6 separate regions of the Homo sapiens genome follow, and regions 1, 2, 4, 5 and 6 are each linked to region 3. The links are contacts of gene promoters, found by promoter capture Hi-C in blood cells and fetal thymus (Javierre and others, 2016). All regions are on one chromosome and are shown on one strand. Each heading gives the region's core, a stretch centred on a gene start or on the middle of the fragment in contact. The rest is flanking DNA. Distances are from core to core; before and after follow the strand shown. Region 1 has its middle 4.0 kb from the start of OR6S1. Region 2 overlaps RNASE11-AS1 (RNASE11 and RNASE12 antisense RNA 1). Region 3 holds the start of OSGEP (O-sialoglycoprotein endopeptidase). Region 4 overlaps LOC124903282 (a long non-coding RNA gene). Region 5 has its middle 2.9 kb from the start of TRT-TGT3-1. Region 6 holds the start of TRY-GTA4-1 (tRNA-Tyr (anticodon GTA) 4-1).

Region 1 (4,815 bases), core at 1,453-3,952, 180 kb after region 3:
CCAAGCAAAGTTAAGTGTAAAGAACAAATCTGGAGGCATCACATTACCTGTCTTCAAACTATACTGCAAGGCTACAGTTACCAAAACAGCGTGGTACCAGTAAAACAAAACAAAACATGTAGACCAATGTAACAGAATAGAGAACCCAGAAAAAAAACCAACTACTTACAGTCAACTAATCTTTGACAAAGCATACAAAAACATAAGTGGGGAAAGGACGCCCTATTCAACAAATGGTGCTGGGATAATTGGCAAGCCATATGTAAAGGAATGATATTGGATTCTCATCTCTCATCTTATACAAAAATCAACTCAAGATGGATCAAAGACCTGAAATCATAAAAATTCTAGAAGATAGCATCAGAAAAACTCTTCTAAACATTGACTTAGGCAAATAATTCATTACCAAGAACCCAAAAGCAAATGCAGCAAAAACAAAAATAAATGAGACCTAATTAAACTAAAAAGCTTCTGCATAGCAAAAGAAATAATCAGCAGAGTAAAAGACAACCCACAGAGTGAGAGAAAATATTCACGAACTATGCATCCAACACAGGATTCAAATATCCAGAATCTACAAGGAAATAAAACAAATCAGCAAGAAAAAAGTAAATAATCCCATGAAAAAGTGGGCAAAGGACATGAATAGACATTTCTCAAAAGGAGATATACAAGTGGCCAATAAACATGAAAAAATACTCAACATCACTAATTATCAGGGAAATGCAAATTAAAACCACAGTGAGATACCACCTTGCTCCTGCAAGAATGGCCATAATTTAAAAATCAAAAAATAATAGATGTTGGGGTGGATGTGGTAAAAAAAGGAACATTTTGTACACTGCTGGTGGGAATGTAAACTAGTACAACCACTATGGAAAACAATATGGAGATTCCTTAAAGAACTGAAAGTAGAACTACCATTCAATCCACCAATCCCACGACTGAGTATCTACCCAAAGGAATAGAAGGCATTATATGAAAAAGACACTTGCATACACATGTTTATTTACAGCAGCACAATTTGCAAGTGCAAAAATATGGAAGCAACATAAATGTCCATCAACAAATGAGTGGATAAAGAAAATGTGCTATATTGGCCGGGCATGGTGACTCACGCCTGTAATTCCAGCACTTTGGGAGATGGAGGTGGGTGGATCACTTGAGGCCAGGAGTTAGAGACCAGCCTGGCCAACATGGTGAAACCCTGTCTCTACTAACCAGCTATGGTGGTGCATGCCTGTAATCCCAGCTACTCGCGAGGCTGAGGCAGGAGAATCATTTGAATCCAGGAGGCAGAGGTTACAGTGAGCCAAGAACGTGCCACTGCACTCCTGCCTGGGTGTCAGAGTGAGACTCCGGCTCAAAAAAACAAAAATAAAGTGGTACATATACACCATGGAATACTACTCAGCCATAAAAAGAAACAAAATAATGGCATTGGATGGAGTTGGAGACCATTATTGTAAGTGAAATAACTCAGGAATGGAAAACCAAATATTGTATGTTCTCACTTACAAGTGAGAGCTAAGCTATGAGGATGCAAAGGCATAAGGAGGAAATAATGGACTTTGGGAACTTGGGGAAATGGTGGGAGGGCACTAAAAGATAAAAGACTCCATATTGCCTACAGTATACACTGCTCGGGTGATGGGTGCACCAAAATCTCAGAAATCACCGCTAAAGAACTTCATGTAACCAAAAACTACCTGTTCCCCCAAAACAATTGAAATAAAATAAATAAATAACAAAGAACACATTGACTATTTCAAATAAGAGGACAAGATCAGTTGTGCCAAACTCTGCTGAGGTAAGTATAAAGAGTAACATATGCTTGCTGAGTTTAGCATCATTGTCATTATCAATGATGTCATTAAGAGCTTCATTTATTTATTTAATTTTTGAGACCAGGTCTCACCCTTTGGCCCAGGCTGGAGTGCAGTGATGCGATCTTGGCTGACTGTAGCCTCGAAATCCCAGGCTCAAACAATCCCCCTTGTTGGCTTCCCAGCATGCTGGGATTGTAGGCGTGAGCCACTGCACCTGGCCTTATTCAGAGTTTTATATGTAAAATGATGCAAACAGAAGCATTTTCTACTTCTTCTAAATTAAGTATATTCTGTCTTAACTGTATGTTTAAAAACAAAATACAAATTTCATGTCAATGAAGGTAAGATCTTTGAAAGGAAAGCTTAGAAATAAATATCAATAAACAGATTTTTATTTATTCTTTTATTTAATCACAAACTTTCATGGACACACAAGTTTGTATCACTGTTATATGCATGCACACATTCACATGCGCACTCAATCTACACATACCATCATACCAAAATTTCAGGCAAATTTATTTCATATAATAGTATGAATAAAGACGCTTGTCATGGTACCTTTATAGAAATTCGAAGCCAGGCGCGGTGGCTCACGCTTGTAATCCCAGCACTTTGGGGAGGGTGAGGCTAGCAGATCACCTGAGGTCGGGAGTTCCAGACCAGCCTGACCAACAAGGATAAACCCCGTCTCTGCTAAAAATACAAAATTAGCTGGGTGTGGTGGCACGTGCCTATAATCCCAGCTACTCGGGAGGCTGAGGCAGGAGAATCGCTTGAACCCGGGAGGCAGAGGTTGCAGTGAGCTGAGATCACGCCATTGGTTTCCAGCCCGGACAACAGAGTAAGACTCCATCTCAAAAACAGAAAAAAAATTATATATTTATATATTCATATGTATTATGTCTACCCCAAAAGTCTATGAATTCCTTGATGGCAGGGGCCAATATTTGTACCTCTAACATACCAACTTACTTCCTAGAACACAGTATTCAACAAATTTTATTGAATTAAATTGAGCCCAAAGTTATTTTTCACAATGAAACACATGTTGAAAATGGATGGTTTAACATGCTTTATTGCCATAATATGTGGCAATTACTTCAAGAAATGCTGTAAATTGTTGCATGAATTCCTTTCCTTGGCCAGTGGCTGGAATAGACTTCAGATTTTTATGTTTCATGAAACTAGGTAATTTTTAAGGCGATATTTCATCTCCTCTCTGGGCAACACTTCTAGATCACTCCAGAAGAGTTATTTTTACCTTCGAATCATTCTTTCCATTCCTTTAGTACTCAGAAATATTTTGGAATAAAATTATCTAGTGTGTTTGCATGCATTATGAATAGAACTAGATAAAAACATTTCTATTTTCCATGCCCACTGAAGCTTATGGCTAACTCTTTTGACGCTAATACGCACTTTGCCAGTTTTGCAGCACTATTTTGAGTTTAGTATGCTGTCGATACCTTGATATTTACATGTTTTGTACATCGTTCCTATGTACACACACTCTAACGTGACAAATCCTGTTTAATGAATGATGACCTCTGTGAAAATTTCTCTAACAAGAAAATGCACTGGGAAGAGTAAACCAATTTTTATAAGATCTCCAATGTCCTTTTGTAAATCTCCTTCTCATCCACATTTCCTTAAATTATTATCCGTCCCTTAGTTCTAAACTCTAAAGTTCAAGCTGCTTGAGGTTAGAAACAATTTATTCTTGTTCATCTTTGTATATATTCATATATCACAGTGTTCAACAAAGATTCTTCACAGACCTTTGCTGAATGAATGAATGAATAAATAAATAAATAAATAAATAAATAAATAAATAAATATTTGTTTCCAAGATTTCCAAAGGGATTTCCATGAATAGGAATCCCTTTTCAAATGTCCAATAAACTAGACAAAATTTACTACAAAGTTTGGTTCTTGGTAGATACAACAATATTTGGCATTTGGCATTCTTTTTTTTTTTTTTTTTAGATGGAGTTTTGCTCTTTCGCCCAGGCTGGAGTGAAGTGGCACGATCTTGGCTCGCTGCAAACCTCCGCCCCCTGGGTTCAGTGATTCTCCTGCCTCCTTATATAATGCCTCCTTATATAATGAAATTATATGAAATTACCCTTTTTGGTAGCTGGGATTAAAGGCGCCCGCCACCACGCCCGGCTAATTTTTGTGTTTTTGTAGAGGCGGGGTTTCGCCATGTTGGCCAGACTGGTCTAGGAACTCCTGACCTCAGGTGATCAGCCTGTCTCGGCCTTCCAAAGGGCTAGGATTACAGGCGTGAGCCACCGTGTCCAGCCTATGTGGCATTCTTAACTCTTTAATATTAAAGCTCCTTATTTTACTAAAAACAAAAGAAGATTTCACACAACAGATACAAGAATGTAAAAAGATGAACAAATGAATGAAACATAATCCAATGACAAAACGAGTGGAGATGTCTTTATCAATGTACTAAAGTGCACACTAGAAGAATACAGTAAATGCTATTACTCATGAAATCCCTCACTGATCTGCTTTCCCAACAGCACCTGGAATTACCACAGAGAAGTAATTAAGTCCCTTTATTAAATTTGCTTCACCTCTTTTTCCTCTAGCATTAAATGTAAATTTTTCTAACAAGCATGTACAAAAATATACAGATAATCTATTTTTATTTCATTTTATATCTATAAGGAATTTTTTCTTAAAATTCTTGACTTGCATAAACAGTTGGAAGGCTCTACTTAGACTTGCAATCAGTTTTTAGCTTTTGAGGAGAGTGCACGAATGGATTCAAATGTTGAATTAAAGCTACAGTCCCTCTTCTCAGACAAATGCATATATATTCAAGCACATAAAATTTAGATACCTATTGGGCATATAAATTTTCTGAAACCCATCCTTAGATTCCCTACATGACCATGGACCCATAGGTTAAGACTCACAGGTTGGAAGGTCTTAGGAAGTGGCGATGATATTGATCACGATATATCAA
Region 2 (4,661 bases), core at 1,289-3,788, 140 kb after region 3:
TTCAGGAAGTATATTCCTGGGCGACCAAATCGCTTCCATGTGCTGTGGAAAAGCTCTTCTTTAGAGAACAATGACAACTAATAAATATGAAAAGAATAATAAAATTAGAAAATCGCAATTTTATAATCATTAATGAAATCATTAAGCCAGGCAAAAAGCATTTGCTGGGTGGTAAAATTATTAAATGAGAGGCTATATAAGGCCGGGCACGGTGGCTCACGCCTGTAATCCCAGCACTTTGGGAGGCCGAGGAGGGCGGATCATGAGGTCATGAGATCGAGACCATGCTGGTTAACATGGTGAAACCTCATCTCTATTAAAAATACAAAAAATTAGCTGGGCGTGGTGGCGGGTGCCTGTAGTCCCAGCTGCTCGGGAGGCTGAGGCAGGAGAATGGCGTGAACCCGGGAGGCGGAGCTTGCAGTGAGCCGAGATCGCACCACTGCACTCCAGCCTGGGCGACAGAGCGAGACTCCGTCTCAAAAAACAAAACAAAACAAAAAACAAACAACAACAACAAAAAAACCAAACAAACAAAAAAAAAGAGAGGCTATGGGGAACTTTGCAATGGAAGATCTAGCTGCCACCACCCAAACAGAAGTAGAAGGTGAGTTATGATGTGCCTCCTAATAAGGTACTGTAGCACGTGCACAGCACTGTTTACCCAGTAGTATTGCCAAATAATTGAGCAGATTAGTTTATTATGCCTGAGATTTAGCTTCCAGATTATAGGAAATTTAGGGAAAAGAGGTGCAAATTATATAATACTACAAGGAAGCAATAAGACAGATCCAGATTATGTGACATTCTACCAGTTTCTTCACAAAGTCTATCACACAAAAACAAAGAGGGATAAACTGTTACAGATTAAAAGAATATTCAAATTTTGAATCTTACTTGAATGTGCATATGGACTGGGCATTAGATTATGTTAAGAACATAATTTTACTTTTATAAGATATAATAATTATAATTATGTAGAAAATGTCTTTATTTTTTGGAGATAATATTCAATAGTTCTAAGTGTGAAATATCATGATGTCAAGTATTTTCTTCCAAGAAATAAAGCAAAAAGAAACGAAGAAAGAAAAAGGGAGGAGGAAAACGGGAAGAGAGAAAAAAAATCTCTGGCAAATTTTTTATAATTGTTGCTTTTAGGAGGAGAGGTGTAATAGGATCTATTATTCTATTCTTTCTACTTTTGTGTATATTTGCAAATAAGTATTTTTTAAAAATTAAATTCCTACTCTCATGGAATTTACATCTGGTGGAAGGAGATAGACAATGAAAAATAAGCATAATCAATACTTTAGTGTTTTAGAGGATAATAAGTGCTGTGCACTTTTTTTTTTTTTTTTTTTTTTTTTTTTGAGACAGAGTCTCACTCTGTTGCCCAGGCTGGAGTGCAGTGGCACAATCGCGGCTCACTGCAACCTCAGCCTCCCAGGCTCAAGCGATTCTCATGCTTCAGCCTCCCGACTAGCCGGGATCACAGGTATGCACAACTATGCCTGGCTAATTTTTGTAGTTTTGTAGAGATGGGGTTTTGCTATGTTGCCCACGCTGGTCTGTAACTCTTGGACTCAAGCAAGTCACCCATCTTGGCCTCCCAAAGTGCTGGGATTTCAGGCGTGAGCCACTGCACCCAGCTGGTGTTGTGCAAATTTAAATAGGATGATCAGAGTAGTCCTAGCCATTACAGGTTTTCTCTTTCTGCCTTTCTAACCAAGCACTAATATTGTTTGAGAATGTACCAGTTCTCCACATAACCATGAGCTTCAAGGGAACCTGCTGGGGATCTGGGTGTGAATCTGCTGGGCCCTGAGTCAATCAAGGTAATCCCATTCATGTGGGGCCAGTGAGAAGGAAAGGATGCACAGCTGGAAGCTTTTGGGAAGAGTGCACAGGGTAAGGATAAGCTGCTGTAACAAAGACATCATCAGGCCAGGCGCAGTGGCTTATGCCTGTAATCCCAGCACTTTGGGAGGTGGAGGCGGGCGGATCACCTGAGGTCAGGAGTTGGAGACCAGCCTGGCTAACACAGTGAAACCCTGTCTCTACTAAAAATACAAAAATTAGCCAGGCATGGTGGCGTGTGCCTGTAATCCCAGCAACTCCGGAGGCCAAGGCAGGAGAATCACTTGAACCCAGGAGGCGGAGGTTGGAGTGAGCCGAGATCGTGCCACTGCACTCCAGCCTGGGCAACAGAATGGGGCTCCATCTCAAAAAAACAAGAACAAAAACAAAACAAAAAAACAAAGACATCATCAGTAATCCAGTGACTTAAAGAAGTTAGAAAGTGATTTCTTCTTGGCTTAACAGTTCAAGGTGAGCACTTCAGATTCTGTTCACACTATCATTCAGAAACTCAGAATTATTCATATATACTTTTCTAAAACCATAAAACACTTTAAGAAAATATTAAGAACTAATTCAACTATATTATGGAGTGGATACCCACCAGGTTATCTAGTCAGACTTTTTTTTAATTTAGATTTTTATTTTTAATTGACAAATAATAATTTTATATATTTATGAGGTTCAATGTGAAGTTTTGATATATATAGTACACTGTGGGATGATTATATCAAGCAAATTAACATATCCATTACTTTTTTAATAGTGCAGATCCTTTTTTAATAGCGAGAACATTTAAAACCTACTCTTCGAATAATTTTGAAATCTACAAAATGGCAGCATGGCCCAGGAGTGTGACTGGCAGTGAAGGAGCTGGGAAGACCTTGGATGCAGGAAGGTCATTTAAAGCAAAAGGTGCTCCCCTAACTCCACAATTTTCTAGACTTTTCCTACTTCTCTATCACCCAGAAGCTACCTTTGAGCACTTTGAGCACCTCTCTTAAGACAAAAAGGTTGAAAGTGCCTCTGAACTGGGTACCGATTTCTTTCCTTTTCTGTGTATTTTCACTAAGGAGCCCCCCGAACCATTTTCACCTCCTACTCTGGTGATGAAAAGAGTCAGGTGATATCCTGAGTTTCTTTCTAACAGTGGAAGTAGGCCTTGCTCATGAGGAAATCTAGGCTGGTTCACACACACTCTTAGTCACCCAATGCAAGTTCACATGTCAAGAAATATTTCTAAGAGCAATGCAAAGGCCATGGGACTTTACCAACCCCTCCAGGAACCCCTTCTTAAACTAACCACCCCCCTCTCTTCCTTGAGTGTCTACAAGAAGCTTTTCTGTGTGGTTCCAGCACATAACTCCCTAAGTGGTGCTACAGGCGATTCATCTGGCCTTCTCCTTGCATGCTGTGAGCCTCTGGAGAGCAAGAGGAATGTTCTTGTTCTCTCTAGCACAGTGCCTGGTATTTCTGAAGAGATCAAAAAATGTTTGTGGAGTGGATGAATGGGTGAAAGATGTCAGATCTTTCCCCTCTTCTGCCAGTAAGTAGCTGTGAAGTCATGTCACTGCTCAGGGTCTGCATTGCTTCCACTCTAAAATGGGGGTAATAAGAAAGAATAAAGGAAGAATTTGATTATTTGTAAGATCTCGCTCTGCTTTCACAAACTAAAGTTCTGAGCTAAATTAAAATGGACTCCATGGCTGTTCTCTTAAGATGACAATGCTCTGGCCACAAGTTTTATTTTCCCCCACCCTGAGGGAATAGGAGGTGGTCTCTGCCTCCCAGCCTGGAGTGCAGGGGAGCAGTAGCAACCGGGAAGCTGGAGCCTGGGTACCAGACCCTGAAGTGGGAGCTGACTCATGAGTGTGGTGGAGCAGTTCTGTGAACTTGCCTAGGAATTGGCATTCGGTTGAAGGGACACCTTCCTAAATCGGGAACACTTACTACTGGGGAAAAAAGGCACGAGACACCCCTGCTCTGGAGGGTTCATTGTCTACTTTTGGCAATTGCAGAGCTGTTTTCTTGACAAGGTGTGAAATGAAGGATTGTGCGGTACCCTCATAAGCCCCTGGGCACTCTTCCAAACCCCCTCCTACCACCTCACCTGTCCCCTTGTCCAGGTGGAGTAGATAGACTGGGGCCTGTGTGTGTCCAGAACAAGCTGTTCCTGATCGTGGGCAGGACATGTTCTGACGAAGCCATCAGTCTCAGCCCTGCAGTTATAGCCCTGTGCTATGCACATAGGAGGTCCTGTTCTCCCTTGGGGAAAAACAAGTCATTTCTTGCTTTATAACTTTCTTCGCGTCTCTGAAATGATTGCCACCAGGCAATAGCCCAAGGAAGACCAGGCTAAGGGAAAGTTACCTAAGTGTGTCTTTCTAACAGCTTCTGGGTAGGCCGGTGCCTTCAGTTTTCCACTTCTGAGAATGCTTTGATCATAGCTTATCTGGCTTCTCCTGTGTGTCCCCAGGCTCAGCCCTCAAAAGTTCCCTTTGAATTCTCCTTGAGGAAGGACCATTAGCCAGCCTTCCCCTATGGCACCTCCCGGACATTCATATCTTTCATAGCACTCCCAGGCTTGAAATAATATAAATGTCCCCTGATCCCAAATAATCACGAAGGCCCTAAAGAACCCAGATGTGGTAAAAACAGAAACTCCCACGGAGAACCCCGCCTCTACTAAAAATACAAAAAATTAGCCAGATGTGGTGCCGCGCGCCTGTAGTCCCAGCTACTCGGGAGGCTGAGGCAGGAGAATCACTTGAACCCGGGAGATGGAGGTTGCAATGAGCCGAGAT
Region 3 (4,715 bases), core at 227-2,726:
AAAATATCAATTAAAAGTTGTAATGTGTTTTGTACTTTTTTTTTTTTTGAGACAGAGTTTCACTCTTGATGCCCAGGCTGGAGTGCAATGGCACCATCTCGGCTCACTGCAACCTCTGTCTCCCGGGTTCACGCAATTCTCCTGCCTCAGCCTCCCAAGTAGCTGGGTTTACAGGCATGCGCCACCACGCCCAGTTAATTTTTTGTATTTTTTAGTGGAAACATGGTTTCTCCATGTTGGTCAGGCTGGTCTCGAACCCCGACCTCAGGTGATCTGCCTGCCTTGGCCTCCCAAAGTGCTGGGATTACAGGCGTGAGCCACCACGCCCAGCCGTGTTTGGTACTTTCATCTAATCTTCAAGACCTAATGATACAGGTATTATTCCCATTTTAAAAACAAAGACCAGGCCCGAGCGGTGGCTCATGCCTGTAATTTCCACACTTTGGGAGGCTGGGGTGGGCGGATCATCTGAGGTCAGGAGTTCGAGACCAGCTTGGCCTGGTGGAAACCCCGACTCTACTAAAAATACAAAATTTAGCTGGATGTGGTGGCGCACACCTATAGTCCTAGCTACTTGGGAGGCTGGGGTAGAAGAATCGCTTGAACCTGGAAGGCAGAGATTGCAGTGAGCCGAGATCGTGCCACTGCATTCCAGCCTGGGCGACAGAGCAAGACTCTGTCTCAAAAAAATAAAATAAAATAAAAAATAAAGACCAAATGTCCAAAACAAAAATATTTAATATGAATATAGCAAAGCCAGCCAGTTCTGTCTGACATGTAAGCCGGGAGTCTTTCCACTCTCATCTCTCTACTCATCCTAGAATATTTCAAAAAATAATTTTTTTTTAAAAAGGGAGTGTATATTCAGGGCAACTGGAATCTATACTCCTGCTAAGCGTTTTTTAAACAGAATATTTCGAGTCCATCTCTATTATACTGTTTATCATGCTGTAGTATAAACATCTATTTATATGTCTGACTCCACAGCAGTATAACATCTATTTCTGAATACTTAGCACATAAAATGCGCTCAGTAAAAGGTAAATGAACTCATCAGATCCACGTCCAAGTGCCTGTAACTCTTCTAGTCATCAGCCTTGTGACGTTAATAATGTCACATAATTTCAATGAGACTCGGATCGAAAGCTGCACCTCACTAGTATTTAGGAAGATGGAAGGCTGATTCTGTGCGGGGAAGTGCGCGGAAAACTCTTAAGTCCCCTACTCACCAACCTGTGCCAGGAGGCGTGACGTAAGTCCGCCGCGGGTTCGCCAGCACCTTGCCATCCCGCACCACGCCCACGCCAATCTTATTGGCGCTGCCTTCAAAACCCAGCACCGCCGGCATGGCGGAGGCTGGGAGAAAACGCCGACAGGACTCCTGGCAATGTCAGGAGCTGTGGAGGTCCTCACTAGTCCGCGCTGGGCCGCAGCTTTCCGGAGCGCAGAGGAAGCTGGCCAGCCTGCAGATAGCACTGGGAAAGACACCGCGGAACTCCCGCGAGCGGAGACCCGCCAAGGCCCCTCCAGGGACCTGTCTTCCTAACTGCCAGGGACGCCGAGCCAACTCTGTGCCTTACATTCGTATCCGTTTTCCTATCTCTTTCCCGTGGTCCAGCCCAGCCTTCTCCACTGTTTTTTTCCCTCTTGCACATAGTTAGAATCTTAAGTCAGTGTCACACAATGTGCTGTGCATCTGGCACAACGATAAACAGCCCGAGGGAGGGTTGGGGACCTAAGTGTCCTAGAGAATTAGAGGAGGGAGGCGAGGCTAAGCGTCTCCGTCACGTGGTGTCAGACAGACCAATCACGCGCATTCTTCGGCCACGACAAGCGCGCCTCTGATCACGTGACCAGGTCCGCTACCCACGTGGGGGCTCAGCGTGCACCCTTCTTTGTGCTCGGGTTAGGAGGAGCTAGGCTGCCATCGGGCCGGTGCAGATACGGGGTTGCTCTTTTGCTCATAAGAGGGGCTTCGCTGGCAGTCTGAACGGCAAGCTTGAGTCAGGACCCTTAATTAAGATCCTCAATTGGCTGGAGGGCAGATCTCGCGAGTAGGGTACAAGGCACTATGAAATGATCTAGTTTCGTGGGTGAGGGGCTGAAGGGCCTATGATGCACGGAGGCGGGGAAAGGATTTAGAGATAACGTGGTTTGAAAGGCGGGACCTGGTGCGGGGACGCTCTTGGGAGGAGTCTTCTCCCCAGCCTTAGCTGGTTTCATGATTTCTTTGCGTCTGTAGGCAACGCGGTAAAAATATTGCTTCGGTGGGTGACGCGGTACAGCTGCCCAAGGGCGTTCGTAACGGGAATGCCGAAGCGTGGGAAAAAGGGAGCGGTGGCGGAAGACGGGGATGAGCTCAGGACAGGTAAGGGAATGAAATCAGCCCTTCTTCCTAGAAGCTGCGGCGGGGGTGTTTGTCATTCCCTTGATGTACGGTAAGTACGGGCCGACTCATTTTTGCAGGGGTTTGTGAAGAAGTCGCAGGAACCGTAGGCTTTCGTTGGGTCTATAGTTAACGCCGGATCGCAGTTGGAAACCACCAGCTTTTTGTCAGTATATATTACTCATTTTATAGAGCCAGAGGCCAAGAAGAGTAAGACGGCCGCAAAGAAAAATGACAAAGAGGCAGCAGGAGAGGGCCCAGCCCTGTATGAGGACCCCCCAGATCAGAAAACCTCACCCAGTGGCAAACCTGCCACACTCAAGATCTGCTCTTGGAATGTGGATGGGCTTCGAGCCTGGATTAAGAAGAAAGGATTAGATGTGAGTGGAATTTGAGGGAAAGAGACATTTTTTAGTATTGAATGGTCTTAGGGTTTAGTCACCCCTTTTCTCCGTTTAGCCTTCAGGCTGTTTTATTTTTCTCCTGCCCGTAGTTTTCTGTGGGGCTTCCCCAGTCTTGCCAGTTGTATTTCCTAAATGTCTGTTCCTTCACTTCCATTGCCATTTTCTTTTTTAGTGTTCTCTCCTCTTCCCAGAATGTTGCAAAAACCTCTTCACTATACTTCCTCCATTTTATCTTCCTGCATTGCATTCCATATGAAGCATGTCCTCCATTCCATTAACCATAGCTTAAAAATCTTAGCTTGCTATCCACTGCCTATAGAAAAAACACATCTCCTTGGCATAGCATGTAAGACTTTCTTACCTCTCTATATTTGTTTTCATTTATCTAGCTTAGAATTGTTTGAATATTGTGCTGCTTGACTCGAACTCCTTAGGCCAAGAGACTGTTTAACCCGTGCGTATCTATGACTTAGCATATAGATTATTCAATAAATGTTCTGCTGAATTGATAATACGTTTTCCACCTTTCTTTTCACTTACAGTGGGTAAAGGAAGAAGCCCCAGATATACTGTGCCTTCAAGAGACCAAATGTTCAGAGAACAAACTACCAGCTGAACTTCAGGAGCTGCCTGGACTCTCTCATCAATACTGGTCAGCTCCTTCGGACAAGGAAGGGTACAGTGGCGTGGGCCTGCTTTCCCGCCAGTGCCCACTCAAAGTTTCTTACGGCATAGGTGAGACCCTATTGATGCCTAATGCCTGAACTCTTCAAAACCAATTGCTAATTCTCTATCTCTGCCCCACCTCTTGATTGCTTTCCCTTTTCTTATAGTTTTTTATGCTAATTCTGTTTCATTTCTATAGGCGATGAGGAGCATGATCAGGAAGGCCGGGTGATTGTGGCTGAATTTGACTCGTTTGTGCTGGTAACAGCATATGTACCTAATGCAGGCCGAGGTCTGGTACGACTGGAGTACCGGCAGCGCTGGGATGAAGCCTTTCGCAAGTTCCTGAAGGGCCTGGCTTCCCGAAAGCCCCTTGTGCTGTGTGGAGACCTCAATGTGGCACATGAAGAAATTGACCTTCGCAACCCCAAGGGGAACAAAAAGAATGCTGGCTTCACGCCACAAGAGCGCCAAGGCTTCGGGGAATTACTGCAGGCTGTGCCACTGGCTGACAGCTTTAGGCACCTCTACCCCAACACACCCTATGCCTACACCTTTTGGACTTATATGATGAATGCTCGATCCAAGAATGTTGGTTGGCGCCTTGATTACTTTTTGTTGTCCCACTCTCTGTTACCTGCATTGTGTGACAGCAAGATCCGTTCCAAGGCCCTCGGCAGTGATCACTGTCCTATCACCCTATACCTAGCACTGTGACACCACCCCTAAATCACTTTGAGCCTGGGAAATAAGCCCCCTCAACTACCATTCCTTCTTTAAACACTCTTCAGAGAAATCTGCATTCTATTTCTCATGTATAAAACTAGGAATCCTCCAACCAGGCTCCTGTGATAGAGTTCTTTTAAGCCCAAGATTTTTTATTTGAGGGTTTTTTGTTTTTTAAAAAAAAATTGAACAAAGACTACTAATGACTTTGTTTGAATTATCCACATGAAAATAAAGAGCCATAGTTTCAGCCTTGCTGTCTTCGTGTCTTACCCCTTCGTGGGGCTACACATTCTCTTCCTCATATTTTCATGCACACAAGTTAACAACTGAAAAAGCGTAGAGTCATGACCTTATTTATTTACAAGCACAGGATAAGTCCCTAACCTCCCCCAAAGACTGAGCAACCCTACCCAGCCCAGTTAAATACTGCAACTGGGGGGGTAAAAAAGGTCGGGAGGAGGAATTAAGGGAAATACAGGAATAGGGGAACATATCCCACATTAAATAGTTATATACACATCAGTTCCTGT
Region 4 (4,440 bases), core at 1,420-3,919, 250 kb after region 3:
ACTGAGCACCTTGTAACCCCTGCCCCTGCCTGCAAGAGAATAACCCACTTTGACTGTAATTTTCCACTACCTACCCAAATCTTATAAAACTGCCCCACCCCATCTCCCTTTGCTGACTCCTTTTTCGGACTCAGTCTGCCTGCACCCAGGTGATTAAAAAGCTTTATAGCTCACACAAAGCCTGTTTGGTGGTCTCTTCACATGGACGCACATGACAGGAGCAGAGATATATGAAGATGCTAGCTGCTTAAGAAGGGAAGTGTGAGTGTGTGTGTGTGTGTGTGTGTGTGTGTGTGTGCACATGTTTAAGGGCAAAACTGACAAAACTGAAAACATTTGAATTACAGCAGATACAGAAAGAAATCTTACCTGAACTTCTCTCACCTGACTAAAGCAGAGCCTCCCAGAAATGCCCCCACCATTATCTCCCTCCGGAGGGGTCCTCATGTAATGGTAATAGGTCTTTTGCCTGATGTGCACAGCATGTCAATATGCCAAGACACTGGGTTGCAGCAGAGAAAGAGGTTTAATTGCAGGGCTGCTGAACCAAAAGATGGAAGGAAACCTCAAATCCATTTCCTCAAAGAGTTTGAGGCTGTTGTTTTTAAGGATTTGGAGTAGGTGGAAATAAGAGATCACTAATTGGTTGAAGAATGCAGAGTGAAGTCATGGGACAGAGAGATGAAAAAACAGTATTCTCATGCTGATCAGTTCATCAGTTGGGCTCTTTAAAGTTGGTGGTGTCAGCTGTTCTGCCGGAATTCAGGATCTGCATAAACAATTCTTAAACAAAAGCCTTATGATTCTAATGTCAAAGATCTTATCTATGGGAACAATGAGAATGCAAATTATCAGTAGCTAGTGTTCGTGAGTTTTGGTTACAAGGAAGTGGGTCAAAGTGTAGCCTGATTAACACTTACTCATAATTATATTTTTGTCCAGGATTCTTGTTAACCGTGTGAGGATTACTTCACCCAGACAGGAGATATTCCAAGAAAATTGTGTAAAACTTTATCCAAAGCTTCTATTTGTCTTTCCCAAAAGTCATTTGTTTTCCTATAGAAGTCATTTCTCCCTCCTTCTTTTCCCCTATGAGTTGATAACTAAACTTCTGTCTCTAGCTCTTCATCAAGCCTCTTCATCTGAATGCTTCCACAAGTTATGAATACAACTTGTTTTCTTTCCCCCTGCTAACCTGTCTATAGTTAATTCACAGGCTCCCACCCACTGAACCAAAGTTGGTAGAGGGAAAGTTTTCCCTCCTAATAGCATGTCTGTGTATATTTAGAGTGAGAAAGAAGGATGAAGAGATAATTCGTCTTTGTCACCATCCAGGTAGTCATGGGAGTTGGGACCTGTGGTATAATAAAAAATAAATTTGAACTTAGTTCCTGGTTCCTGCCACAGACCTTCTAAAATGCTTGGAATTTCCTGAGTGATAGTGTAACCAAACTAAGGGTCAGCTGATCACTGCTCACTGCTCAAAAGCAAGACTTGCAAGACAAGAGTTGGTGCAGGAAAAGCAGGTTTATTCAAGAGCTAGCAACCTGAGGAGATGGTGGACTAGCGCCTCAAAGACTATTTCAAAATTTTAGGCTAGCTAAAGGGATTTTAAGAAGTAGGAGGCATGGAAACTATGAGCAGGAGTGGTGCAGGGTGCAGGTTTGCATGTCTTACTCTGATGGCTATCTTCAGTAACGGATCACCTGGAGGTCTGGCTGGCATCACCATGACTGCAACTAGCTTATGGATTAACCCCCCTCAGTGATTTTTCTGAGAATGTAGGATTCCACAATCTCAAATTCATGCCCGGTTTATTTCAAGATTAGCCCCTGGGTTTCTTAAGCAAGGATACGGCTAGATACTGAATAAATCAAAGGGTGAGGCTATTCATTATTGAAGCAGGCTGATTATTCCAGCTACAAACTCCCCACTGCCAATTCCTGTTTCATTTCTATGGGAGATCAGGTGTCAATTTCTTTCTAGCTACTTCCTGCTGAATGAGGGCATCACTAGGGAGCTGAAGAATGGAATTTATTTACCTGGAGTTGGAAGTATTCATGCATTCCTTGACTTATGGAAGTGATTTTTTACAGCATCATTGACCTGGGAGTTAGGAGCCTTTCCAATTAAGGAAAACACAATCTTGCAATATCACACATATGGTGCAACAAGAGTATAACCCATAGAGAATATACCTATTCCTATAATCATAGCTGGAACTACTAGCAGTTTTTTCCACCAAGTAGGTCCGTATCCAAACCATGAAGATAACCACTGGTTTAGGAACATTGTGGGGTCAGACATAGCATTGATTTGTCTGTGCACGTCTTGAAGGGCTAAGGAGATGTTTCGCAAATTACCTAGGATATACACAAAACATTTAGTTTCAATTATGGGTCAAGGTCCCTCCCAGCAGCTGTGAGTACATCAAGGGCCATGTGGTTTTGCAAGACTACTTTTCCCATCATAGTCATTTCAGAGGTTACTAATGAGATGCCCTTAAATGTGTCTTTCAGCACTTGCTATAATTTGTAAGTGCCTCAATATGCCAGATGATGCTTTCTAAGCCTGCTTGGGGGAAAACAAGGGACAGGAGATGGTCGTAGGAAGGGAAAACCGGCCTGGTCCATTGGTGTAACACATCTGGAAAGTGTGCAGGCTGCCTGGTGGTTTTTGTTAATCAGCCCCGGACCTATGGGGGTCCTAACGTGCACTGCCCTATCCATCCATCAGGTAGACATGGCCGAAGATTAGTTTCACATAACTATTGAGTTCCACTGGGGACCAGCCACCAAATTTTGGGTCTGTGTCCAATCAGTGGTAAACAGGTTTGTCTAATATAGCACTAAAGAATGTTCATATTGATGTAGAGGCATCCTATCCACATTTTTAGTAACATTCGGCCAATGATTCTAAGAGTGATTCCTTTGTTCCCAACATGAAGTGGCAATTTGGGTTAAGTGACTAATAGTGGAGATCATCCAGAGGTAATCGTCCCAAATTTGATAAAAACTCACCTACCGTGTAATGGTTATTAGTAGCCAAAATCTTGGGGGCCATCTAGGAAAACTCCTTTAAGAGAGGGATTGCATACTCAGAGGTCCTTTGGATAGTCCGGTTATAATGAAGAGTTTTCCAGGATCTGGATTCTGAAGCGTTATATTAATGCCAGGCCATTTTTAAAAAATATTACCTTAAGTTACCAAGGTCCTGATTTTCCCATGAACAGTTTTTCATATACGTTTGTAAATGTATCTAATCAGTCCCCTGCAGGGGTGATACTCACTAAAGTAGCCCAGAAGTGCTAGAGATGGGTAGCAATCCACATACCCAGCAAGCATCTTAGTGTAGACTATCTGCATAATGTTATGCCCACTGTAGAAATAGACTAGTTTTAGCAGATGTCAAAAAAGTTTACTCATTATGATAAAGAATAACAGAAATTTAATCCTATAGTACAAAAAGATTTTTCTTAAGCAGTAGCTTCAGTTCTCCAGTTGGCTCACAAGTCCAACCAGGTTGATTGTCTGCTGTGTCAGGTTGGGGAGGGGCGATTTTTACCGAAATGTGATGTATGCGTGGTTTGACTCCAGCCAGCTTAACAGATGAATGAGTAGTTAATAAAACATCATAATGACCTGTCCACTTTTTGGCTGGCTGTTGTTGGTCCAGTCCTTGTTTTTACCAAGATTTTAGCGGCACTTTATCCTTGGATGAAAAGGGTGAAGGGGCTTTTTTGTAAGACACATAAAACTGGAAAGAACAAAAAGAACAAACTTGTGCAGGGTTAGTGATTTATGTCTTAGTTGTTGTACATATTGTTTAATTCTTGATTAATTTATTAAGTCCAAGGGTGGGGTCCCTGGCCAAGAACTTCAGAAGGGTCTCCCACACACAATTTCAAAAAGGCTTAATTTAAGCCCACTTCAGGGTGCTACCCCAATCCATAGCAGGGCAATAGGTAAAACCCTTTACCATTTTAAATCTGTTTCCCGATAGAGTTTTGCCAGGGGTTTTTTTTGGTTTTTTTGTTTGTTTGTTTTGTTTTGTTTTTGTTTTTGTTTTTGTTTTTTAGCATGTGGATCATCTTTTCAGTCTTTCCAGTTGATTGTGGCCTCCAACAAGAGTGTCATTTCCATTTGATCTGTAATGCTTGGCTTATCCTTTGTGTGATCTCAGAAATTAAAGAAGGATTATTGTTGCTTGGTATGGAGTAAGGAAGTCCAAATCGAGGAATGATTTCTTTTAGCAGAGCCTTAGCTACTTCTGCAGCTTTCTCAGACTTGTTCGGATAGGCTTCAATCTCTTGCTCGGGTAAGCTTCAACCTTTCCAGAAAATGTGTCTACAAACACTAGTAGGTACTTATAAATCCCAGTGTTTTTGGCATCTGGGTGAAATCAACCTGCCAGTCCTCGAATGGTCATATTCCTTTGTAT
Region 5 (4,519 bases), core at 1,979-4,478, 160 kb after region 3:
TTAATCCTTCCCTGAAGACATACACAGATTTACACATAGTTGGTATGAAAATAATACGACTTTTTAGAAAAGATTGTTTTTAATTTTTAGAAACCTTGTTTATATAAGCTGGTGAACAGAAACTAAACAATTATTTAACTAAGAAAGATCTCGTACCCATTTCTTACGGCAAATAAGCCGTAGGTGAGAACATTGGAAAATAAGCACTGATTCATGAAACACCAAGAAGTGACGCGACTCTGCTTAGTAAGATTTAGACCCTCTGACCACAGCTCTGCTCTTATACTCACTATTTTTTAGTGCTTTCATGTCCAAGATCACAAAATTTGTAAGAAATCTGTAAGGTTATTATGATTCATTGTCTCCTTTATTTTTCATTATTTAAACGTAAAACATGATGCTGTTGACCTTACACATTTTCAAGGAAGAAAAGTGCTCTATTTAGATAGGCAAAGTAAGGCATTTGTGGCAGATTTTCTTGGATTAGGGATGAGTCAGGAAGAGGCCTCACAATGTTGTCCTAAGGTGAGATGAATACATATATTTTGTAGCCTGACAAGGGCTGTTCCTTCTACTGCTCCTGGGTGTTTAACCCTCAGTCTTCTGCTCCCAAGAGAACTACAAGGCTTTGTTTTAACTGATTGAATTAAAAATTGAGTCTCTATACTCTATTTGCCTACACAAGACACTTCACTGGAGAAAACCTCTAACATGCTCTCTTTGGGCCTAAAGACACACCTCATAGCTTAAGGAAATGGCAGGTTGCCTACCTTTTTTTTTTTTTTACGTCAGGGGAACACAAGTACGCCTACCTTTTTTCTAGAGCAGAAAAGTCAAATTAAAATAAACTTTTGGTCATAGTTGATGTGTGACTGTTGGCATGTATAGACATAGAGTATGTAGTGCAGTGGTTAGAAAAAACCTAAATCGGTTATTTAACTTTGCCAGGTCTCAACGTCCCTGTTTTCAAAATAGGTGTTTATTATTATCATCATTGTTAGTATTATCTTCATTATTATTATTTTCAGAGAGACTGGCCATAGGCAAAATTACTAAGCAGTGGAAACTGTCTCTCAAACGGCCTTCTTCCTCTTTGCTGTTTCTCCTCCTCTCTTTGCTTGTCTTTCTCTGATGGTATTCATGATGGCCCCTCACCTTCTCTTAGAACCTGTCCCCTCATTCTCACCCTGTCACAATTTGGCAAGCTCACTTCTATTCCCTACATGAATTGATTTCTTCTCTTCTAACCACAGACTGTTATTCATTTAAGAATAATTTAAATTTGGGAGGCTGAGGCGGGCGGATCACGAGGTCAGGAGATTGAGACCATCCTGGCTAACACGGTGAAAACCCATCTGTACTAAAAATACAAAAAATTAGCGCATGGTGGCACGGGTCTGTAGTCCCAGCTACTCGGGAGGTTGGGGCGGGAGAATTGCTTGAACCCGGGAGGCGGAGGTTGCAGTGAGCCGAGATGGCGCCACTGCACTCCAGCCTGGGCGACAGAGCCAGACTCAGTCTAAAAATAATAATAATAATAATAATTTAAAATATTCAAAGAAGTATTCCAAGGAGAGAAGCCAGGGCAACAACCATGGATCTGATGTTTCTGGTTTCTGCTAGACAGAGGCTGGCTTTGCGGAGAGGGTTCTCACTCCTCTATCAGTACAAATAAACCTTTGACCAATTGACCCTATCCACATTCAGCCCACTTCCTACCATCAAAGGTTGTCCCAGGACCTTATGTTACATTCTCATTCTTCCAGGCCCTTACTCCACAATTCACTCGAGTTGGCGTGTCTGACGCTACGAAACTCCAAAAGCCCCTTCTACTAGTTTATTAGACTTAGCATCAGCAAACCTGGTTGTGCTCCAGTGTGTTCTGGCCCATCCTGAGCACTTCCTCTGCTGAGCAACTTGACCCCTAGTTGTAATCTTAGCAATATTTTTAATTGCTTTTTTTGTTGTTTGTCTGTATTTCTTCCATTTCCCCTCAACTTTTCATTTGGAAAAACTTTAATCCTAATGTGGAAATAAATGAACACCAGTTAATGAGAACCAGCAAAAGCTATTCAGAGCTTTCTATAGCAAAGGAGTTAGCAGCCTTCACTTGTGATTTTTTAAAAATATAATTTCCATATTATTTTTCTCTAGAGAGAGTTTTTCTTCAATCCTTAAGGACTCACCTTCTTATATGGGCTTTGGTAGGGGTCATGTGGCAGCACCCATAGGTCTGAATCAGGGTGGCGGTGTTCGGTCCTTGCAAGCTTCACAAGATTAATTCCTGTCTACCTTGCTGTGAATGACACAACTCCCACCGTAACAGAATTTCACGAACAACTTGGGAAGCCCATAGGCGTCAAAGATACTAGCTTCAGAAATGTCCCTGACAGGTGCAGTCTCTACTACGTTTTGAATGATGAACTTCTTAATAGTCTTGCCTTTGGGTAGGCATAGGGCATAATTCATGTAGCAAATAGGCTGCACGTGGCTGTGGCCCTTTTTGGCATGACCATTGTTATTTCTTTTCTTTGCCATCTTGGAAGTGGGGACCCAAAAGAACGTCACTTGTGATTTGGCAGAGACTCAAAGGCAAGCAGAGGAGTGGGAAAACTTTATAGTGGACAAAGGGAAGCCTTCAAGTGTGCCCTGACTGGAGACTGTGGCATGGGGACACGGTGGGCAGGCTAACTAGAAGCGGGGCATCCTATGTGATTGGTTAGGGATGCATATTTGGCTTTCTCTGGTTGATGCTAACTTGGAAACAGAAACAAATAATAGGAAAGGTGTTAATTATTCATAAATTCCTAGCCACTGGGTCTGGTTTTTACAGAGGTTATTGTTTGGCTTCCTGGGCTGGTTGCTTAGAGATAGTGGTCTGACTTCCTAAAAGTCTGGCTTAAAGGCAATGGACTGGCCGGGCGCTGTGGTTCACGCCTGTAATCCCAGCACTCTGGGAGGCTGAGGCAGGCGGATCACCTGAGGGTCAGGAGTTCGAGACCAGCGTGACCAAAATGGTGAAACCCTGTCTCTACTAAAAATACAAAATTAGCCTGGCGTGGTGGTGCATACCTGTAATCCCAGCTACTCAGGAGGCTGAGGCAAGAGGATTGCTTGAACCCAGGAGGCAGAGATAGCCAGTGATAGGCGGTGAGCCAAGATAGTGCCATTGCACTCCAGCCTGGGCAACAAGAGTGAAAATCCGTCTCAAAAAAATAAATAAATAAAAGAGAGAGAGAGATAATGGGCTGGCTTCCTGTGCTGGTCACTGTGGGTTGACTTCCTGCACTGGCTGTTGTAGGTTAGTGCTGGTCAGAGGTCTATTTTTATATATGTTCTGGCCACTGTCTGTTTGTATAGTAATACCCTAGGGAAAAGTTAAAAAAACGGTACGGTAAAACCTGTATACCCTTTAACTAGAACACCCATTATTAGGAACATTTGCATCCTTCTTACCTACCCTTCCCCCTGTTTACATGTACTATCCAAGAGCAGAATATTAGTACCATAACACACCCAAGAAAATTTATAATTCCTTATATGCTAGTAGACATACAGTCCATATTCAGATTTCCCCACTTACCCACTCCCTATTAAAATAATGTAAATTCTAACAATATATCTCACTGCATTTAGTTGTAACATCTCTTTGGTCTCTTTTAATCTAGAAAATTCCCCTCCTCTTAGACTTTCTTTTCTCATGGCAGTTGTCTTACAGGAAGTCTCACATTCTGAATGTGATTATTTCCTCATATAAGATTCAGTTCAATATTTACTTATTTCCTCATGATTAGATTCAGCTTAAATATTTTTGTCAAGGACCCTACTACTAATTTTCCAGGATAGATTGTCTAGGGTCTAGGTAGGACTGAATTTCTAGTAAACCAAGCAGGAAGAATGAAGTCTAATGACTGATACTTATTTACATGACAGTGCACTATTTCAAGGAGCTTCTGTTCAGAAAAGGAAACTATTATGTCATCCTTTGGGGAAGACTTTGTAATTTTCAGCTTCATTGGCTATAGAATATTTTTAAAGGTCAGGAATTTATATCCCAGAAAAGTAGGCACAATTACCAGGACTCAACCAATTATTCACTGTAACAACATCCACGAACACCTATGACAGGCATACTGGTTTCCAAGATACATAGACTGTTTATCTCAGACATCAAGGAACGTGAGTTTGCAAAGCTTTAGCCACACACACACACACACACACACACACACACGTACTTGCCTCGATTTGTACTTTCTCAAAGTTTTCTTCAGATTTCCACAGACATCTTACCTTCTGGAAACTGAGGCTACACTCACTCTGGTGATTATCAGTTACCACTTGTATTGCCATCTAACTGTAGTGTGTGTCTCTGTGTGTTTGTTCATTCTTCTAGGTTTGTATTGTATATATTGTAAAAGGTGGAGAAGATATTTTCTTTTATTCAAATTCAAGTTCCCAATGAGCAAGGATAATATTCTTGTTTGTCTTCTGCTCCTCCCCAAACCTGATCAAATGATAA
Region 6 (4,280 bases), core at 1,273-3,772, 200 kb after region 3:
TGTCAGTGTTGGACTGCTTACCCTGACCCCATGTGTTTGACAATGTTTCAGATCTTATCTGGTGTGTGTCACTATATCGGGGGACCTGCCCCGATAATCATGTAGGTTCTTTTCTATTTTCCTAAGCATCGACTGGCTTGAGAAATAAAAGGACAGAGTACAAAAGAGAGAAATTTTAAAGCTGGGCATCCGGGGGAGACATCACACATTGGTAGGATCCGTGATGCCCCACAAGCCACAAAAACCAGCAAGTTTTTATTAGGGAGTTTCAAAAGGGGAGGGAGATACGAATAGGTGTCGGTGACAGACATCAAGTACTTAACAGGGTAATAGAATATCACAAGGCAAGTGGAGACAGGGCGAGATCACAGGACCACAGGACCGAAGTGAAATTAAAATTGCTAATGAAGTTTTGGCACCATTGTCATTGATAACATCTTATCAGGAGACAGGGTTTTGAGATCAACCGGTCTGACCAAAGTTTATTAGGCGGGAATTTCCTCTTCCTAATAAGCCTGGGAGTGCTATGGGAGACTGGAGTTTATTTCACCTCTGCAATCTCGACCATAAGAGACAGGTACGCCCCGGGGGGGGCCAGTTCAGAGACCTACCCCTAGGTGCGCATTCTCTTTCTCAGGGACGTTCCATGCTGAGAAAAGGAATTCAGCGATATTTCTCCCGTTTGCTTTTGAAAGAAGAGAAATATGGCTCTGTTCCCCCCGGCTCACCGGCGGTCAGAGTTTAAGGTTATCTCTCTTATTCCCTGAACATTGCTGTTATACTGTTCTTTTTTCAGGGTGCCCACATTTCATATTGCTCAAACACACATGCTGTACAATTTGTGTACTTAACGCAATTATTACAGGGTCCTGAGACAATATACATCCTCCTCAACTGACAGGATTAAGAGATTAAAGTAAAGAGAGGCATAGGAAATCACAAGGGTATTGATTGGGGAAGTGATAAGTGTCCATGAAATCTTTACAATTTATGTTTAGAGATTGCAGTAAAGACAGGCACAAGAAATTACAAAAGTATTAATTTGGGGAACTAATAAATGTCCATAAAATCTTCACAATCCACATTCTTCTCTCATGGCTTCAGCCGGTCCCTCTGTTTGGGGTCCCTGACTTCCCGCAACACCACTACCCCAAGACCACTGGGACACCCACCCCCCAGCTGAACACCTACTGGAGGTGCAGCAAGCCACATCCAAGGAACCTGGCCACCATTGAGTTTAAGTCCACTCCCTGTCTTATGGCAAGTGGGTCTGGATCTCTGAGGGCAAGGGTCAGATGCTCACAGAACCCAGCTACTCTGTCATGGCTCAAACAGGAAGAGTTGGTACCCAGGTTTCAACCTTGCTTGTGCTGGCCACCAAAGCCCATTCACTGGCTCACCTCTGATTTTCCCACCAAAACACTAAACAGAGGTTCCGAAGAACCTGGGGGTCTCTATATCCCATCATGAACTTATCCAATAAGGGACAAAGGTACTACATTTCGTCTGTGTTCGCTAGCCTCTGCCTTTGGTGTCATTGGAGGCAGGGATCTCTCTGTGGCTCCAAAGCCATAGAATCATCCTGGGCACTGGCGATGCCACAGCTTGGCCTCCTTCTGTTAGCAATGAGAAGCAGGAAAGGCTGACAAAGCCAGGGGAACATTGGGGGAAATAGGGAGGTGGAGGGAGATCAGGAGCTGCTTCCCAAGAAAGACCTGTGTAGTCTTCAGTTTGAGACCTGCAATGAAACAGCTCTTGTGGCCACAGCAGGTAGTGGAGGCAGGTGTCCCAGTCCCCAGAGGGTTTCAGAGGGCCACGTTCCCATGGGCCATTTGGCTTGGAGTGCTCTCTGTGATAGGTTGCATGTGCGCATCAAATCTCTGGAGATTTTTTCTGAGATGGTGAGATGAGACCAAGGAACGCTTGTTGGCTTTCTTCTCTGCCCCATACCCACAGAACCCACTCCATCTCCCTGGAGGTGTAACCCCTGTTCGTTGGAGAAAACCTAAGTCCATTTCCTACTTCATTCTCTCTGATTAGGCCTCAGCACTTTTTCCTTTGGGGTGAGGGTAGAGTCCAACTGTGCCTCTAGTCCCAAAGCTCCAAACTGCTCAGACCCACCAGGCAGTGGCCTAAGGCAGCGAATTCGTGTGCCTCTGTATAATGACAGCTGTCACTCAAGCTTTACTTCTGCTCCCTGCCATGGACCCAACAGCCTCTAACTCTCCAGGATCACTGAAGCTCTTTTCCAGCCTGCACTTTTGTACTCCCCTTCCATCTCCCTTACCCTCTCAAGTAGCAGGGCACTCAACACAGGTGTTTTTGCTGGCTTTGAACTGAATATTAGGTCCTTTCTTTTCTAGCAGGGGCCAAACTCCGCTGTAGCAGCATGAAAAGTTGTGAAGGCTCAGAAAAAGTGAGGCTTGAGGGATTTGGGAAAAGCTATGGGGATAGGGGATAGACTCACCTTGTCCTCAACCTAAAGGGCAACCTGACCTTGCTAATGGAAGTTCTTAGGATTAGGAAATTCTCAGGGTGACAGCTGTCTCCCCAAAGTAGACACAGCAAAGTGGGAATGAACATTTTCTTTACGCCTGTATAGGTCTATACATTTCCAGCCAAGGAGAATGAGAGGGGCAGGCTGAGGGCTCAGGGAAGAGAGATAGGGAGGCAGAGACACAGAGACAAAGAGAAATATACAGAGACAGAGAAACGGTGAAAGAGAGAAAGAGAATGAGACAGAGACAAACATGAGACTGTCAGATCTCAATGCAGTGATAAAGAGCCTGAGATGGATGAGAGTGAGAGGGTGAGTTTTCACGGAAGATACCACGGTTATCCCCACTTTACACCCTTGTCAAGTAAGCTTGACGTTCTCCAGGGAACTTGACCTTCCAGGCTTTGCCCACCTGGTCAGGAGAGCTCTGTCAAAGGTGAGCACAGCGGTTTTGTCACAGCCAGTGGAGATGCTCAAGCTCGAGAGCAGTCTGTGAAGAAAAGCGAAGGAGCACAGGGTGGGGAAGTAGTGGTCAGCATGAATAGAGGGATTAGTGGGGTCACAAAGTAGAAGCAAGGCGTGGGAAGCTAGGTGATCAGGAAAGACTTCGTGGGTGTTTTGCCCGGGAGAGTGTGGTTACTACTTGGAAGCTGCAGGGCTTTTAACCAAAAGCATCACGCACTTCCTTCGAGCTGGAATCGAACCAGCGACCTAAGGATGTCCGCAAATGTCTATACAATCTACAGTCCTCCGCTCTACCAGCTGAGCTATCGAAGGATGCATGCTATCAAAGCTGGTTCATTGGACTTTCTGCAAACAGAGGGAGCCACATCCCTGGAATGCTTGAGGTCCAATACGCGTTGGGTTGGTTGGCACCCACCTTGGAAGAGAACCCTGCGCCGCTTGACACCACACCCCTTTCAGGGCGGAGCAAATCCTCTGGGCGAGGATGCCTGGTGTCTCTCGGGCTCTGATAGCCACCATCCACGAGGAGGAGCTCTCATCTGTGACAGCCTTCCTCTCCCTGAGCATCCACCTTTCTACAGGTGAGGATGACAGCCCCCAGTGGCCTGAGAGAAAATGAGAAGGTGAGTCAGCGAGGGCACAGGGATTGGCGAGGTGGTTGGGTGGGTCTAGTCGGGGAGAGAACGCTGGAGGAGGAAAAGAGGAGAACCCTAATGGGCGCTGGATAGGCAGCTGACAACTCCAACCCAACCTCAGAGTCTGGTGCAGGTCTCTAATGGGCGCTTCCATAATAGTCTGGCCTCTCTACTCCCTCCCCTACCACACACACAGGGCCCTCCTCCCCAGGTGCCCCGCCCTTCTCCTCATAGTAGTCTATGCTCACATTTTGGTGCATTGAGGTGCACTGGGAAGTGAGGTGAGGAAATCTCTCCCAGGCTTGCAGAGGCACATGTGAGATACCCTCTTCTGCAAACAGGCTGAGAATTCCAATCAGAAGCTGCTGATTTCTGAAGTAGGGCAAAGTTCTGTGGGTTTCTTTGAAAAACAAGAAGCCAGGTAGAGGACAGAAGTGTGAGCTTTGGACTCCTTATCCTGAACCCACATCTTTGACAAAAGTTTCAGATCCCATCTGGTGTGTGCCCACCACTCCGAGACCACTGAGGCACCCTCTCTGCAGCAGAACACCTAGAGGAGGACAGGAAGCCACACCCACGGGACCTAGCCTCCATTGAGTTTATGTCCACTTCCTGTCTTATGGCAAGTGGGTGTGGATCTCCGAGAGTGAGGATCAGATCCTCACAGACATCCTGCTACTCTC

What was found. Contacts are between HindIII fragments. The CHiCAGO score rates a contact against its expected background, and 5 or more counts as called.
Region 1: a contact is called between a fragment that was not itself captured here and the fragment with the promoter of OSGEP in region 3, in 8 of 17 cell types (total B cells, total CD8 T cells, naive CD4 T cells and 5 more). The highest score is 8.0, in total B cells.
Region 2: a fragment that was not itself captured here is called in contact with the fragment with the promoter of OSGEP in region 3 in 13 of 17 cell types (megakaryocytes, erythroblasts, M0 macrophages and 10 more); the score reaches 9.9 in megakaryocytes.
Region 4: a contact is called between a fragment that was not itself captured here and the fragment with the promoter of OSGEP in region 3, in 4 of 17 cell types (naive B cells, erythroblasts, total B cells and 1 more). The highest score is 7.7, in naive B cells.
Region 5: a contact is called between a fragment that was not itself captured here and the fragment with the promoter of OSGEP in region 3, in 16 of 17 cell types (naive CD4 T cells, megakaryocytes, naive CD8 T cells and 13 more). The highest score is 13.1, in naive CD4 T cells.
Region 6: a contact is called between a fragment that was not itself captured here and the fragment with the promoter of OSGEP in region 3, in 9 of 17 cell types (total CD8 T cells, naive CD4 T cells, naive B cells and 6 more). The highest score is 7.5, in total CD8 T cells.

Annotation. Positions count from the first base shown.
Region 1 is chr14:20,635,334-20,640,148 of GRCh38, forward strand. No RefSeq gene overlaps it. Among named protein-coding and RNA genes, the nearest start is that of OR6S1, 4.0 kb to the right of the region's middle. The HindIII fragment of the contact is 1,027 bases long and covers 2,190-3,216 here.
Region 2 is chr14:20,594,048-20,598,708 of GRCh38, forward strand. It overlaps RNASE11-AS1 (RNASE11 and RNASE12 antisense RNA 1), which reads left to right. Exons shown (of 5, transcript NR_122043.1): 3 at 2,629-2,772. Among named protein-coding and RNA genes, the nearest start is that of RNASE12, 5.0 kb to the left of the region's middle. The HindIII fragment of the contact is 1,307 bases long and covers 1,886-3,192 here.
Region 3 is chr14:20,453,336-20,458,050 of GRCh38, forward strand. It overlaps OSGEP (O-sialoglycoprotein endopeptidase), which reads right to left and starts at 1,477. Exons shown (of 11, transcript NM_017807.4): 1 at 1,234-1,477. The coding sequence starts at 1,348. APEX1 (apurinic/apyrimidinic endodeoxyribonuclease 1) reads left to right here and starts at 1,891. Exons shown (of 5, transcript NM_001641.4): 1 at 1,891-2,059; 2 at 2,243-2,368; 3 at 2,579-2,766; 4 at 3,333-3,525; 5 at 3,656-4,432. The coding sequence starts at 2,311. The coding sequence ends at 4,173. PIP4P1 (phosphatidylinositol-4,5-bisphosphate 4-phosphatase 1) reads right to left here. Exons shown (of 7, transcript NM_144568.4): 7 at 4,346-4,715. RefSeq lists silencers at 1-127, 3,755-4,049, promoters at 1,390-1,834, 1,464-2,001, 1,666-2,000, enhancers at 1,425-1,514, 1,935-2,154 and cis regulatory regions at 1,461-1,791, 1,722-1,877, 1,748-1,789, 1,786-1,791, 1,802-1,834 and 2 more. The HindIII fragment of the contact is 3,687 bases long and covers 1-1,996 here.
Region 4 is chr14:20,706,363-20,710,802 of GRCh38, forward strand. It overlaps LOC124903282 (a long non-coding RNA gene), which reads right to left. Exons shown (of 2, transcript XR_007064061.1): 2 at 3,431-4,440. EGILA (EGFR interacting lncRNA) reads right to left here and starts at 579. Exons shown (of 4, transcript NR_174964.1): 1 at 385-579. The HindIII fragment of the contact is 3,301 bases long and covers 1,020-4,320 here.
Region 5 is chr14:20,614,454-20,618,972 of GRCh38, forward strand. It overlaps the pseudogene RPS26P9. Among named protein-coding and RNA genes, the nearest start is that of TRT-TGT3-1, 2.9 kb to the left of the region's middle. The HindIII fragment of the contact is 1,926 bases long and covers 2,266-4,191 here.
Region 6 is chr14:20,654,284-20,658,563 of GRCh38, forward strand. TRY-GTA4-1 (tRNA-Tyr (anticodon GTA) 4-1) reads right to left here and starts at 3,274; the gene lies at 3,181-3,274. It overlaps LOC124903281 (a long non-coding RNA gene), which reads left to right. Exons shown (of 2, transcript XR_007064059.1): 2 at 3,422-4,280. The HindIII fragment of the contact is 684 bases long and covers 2,181-2,864 here.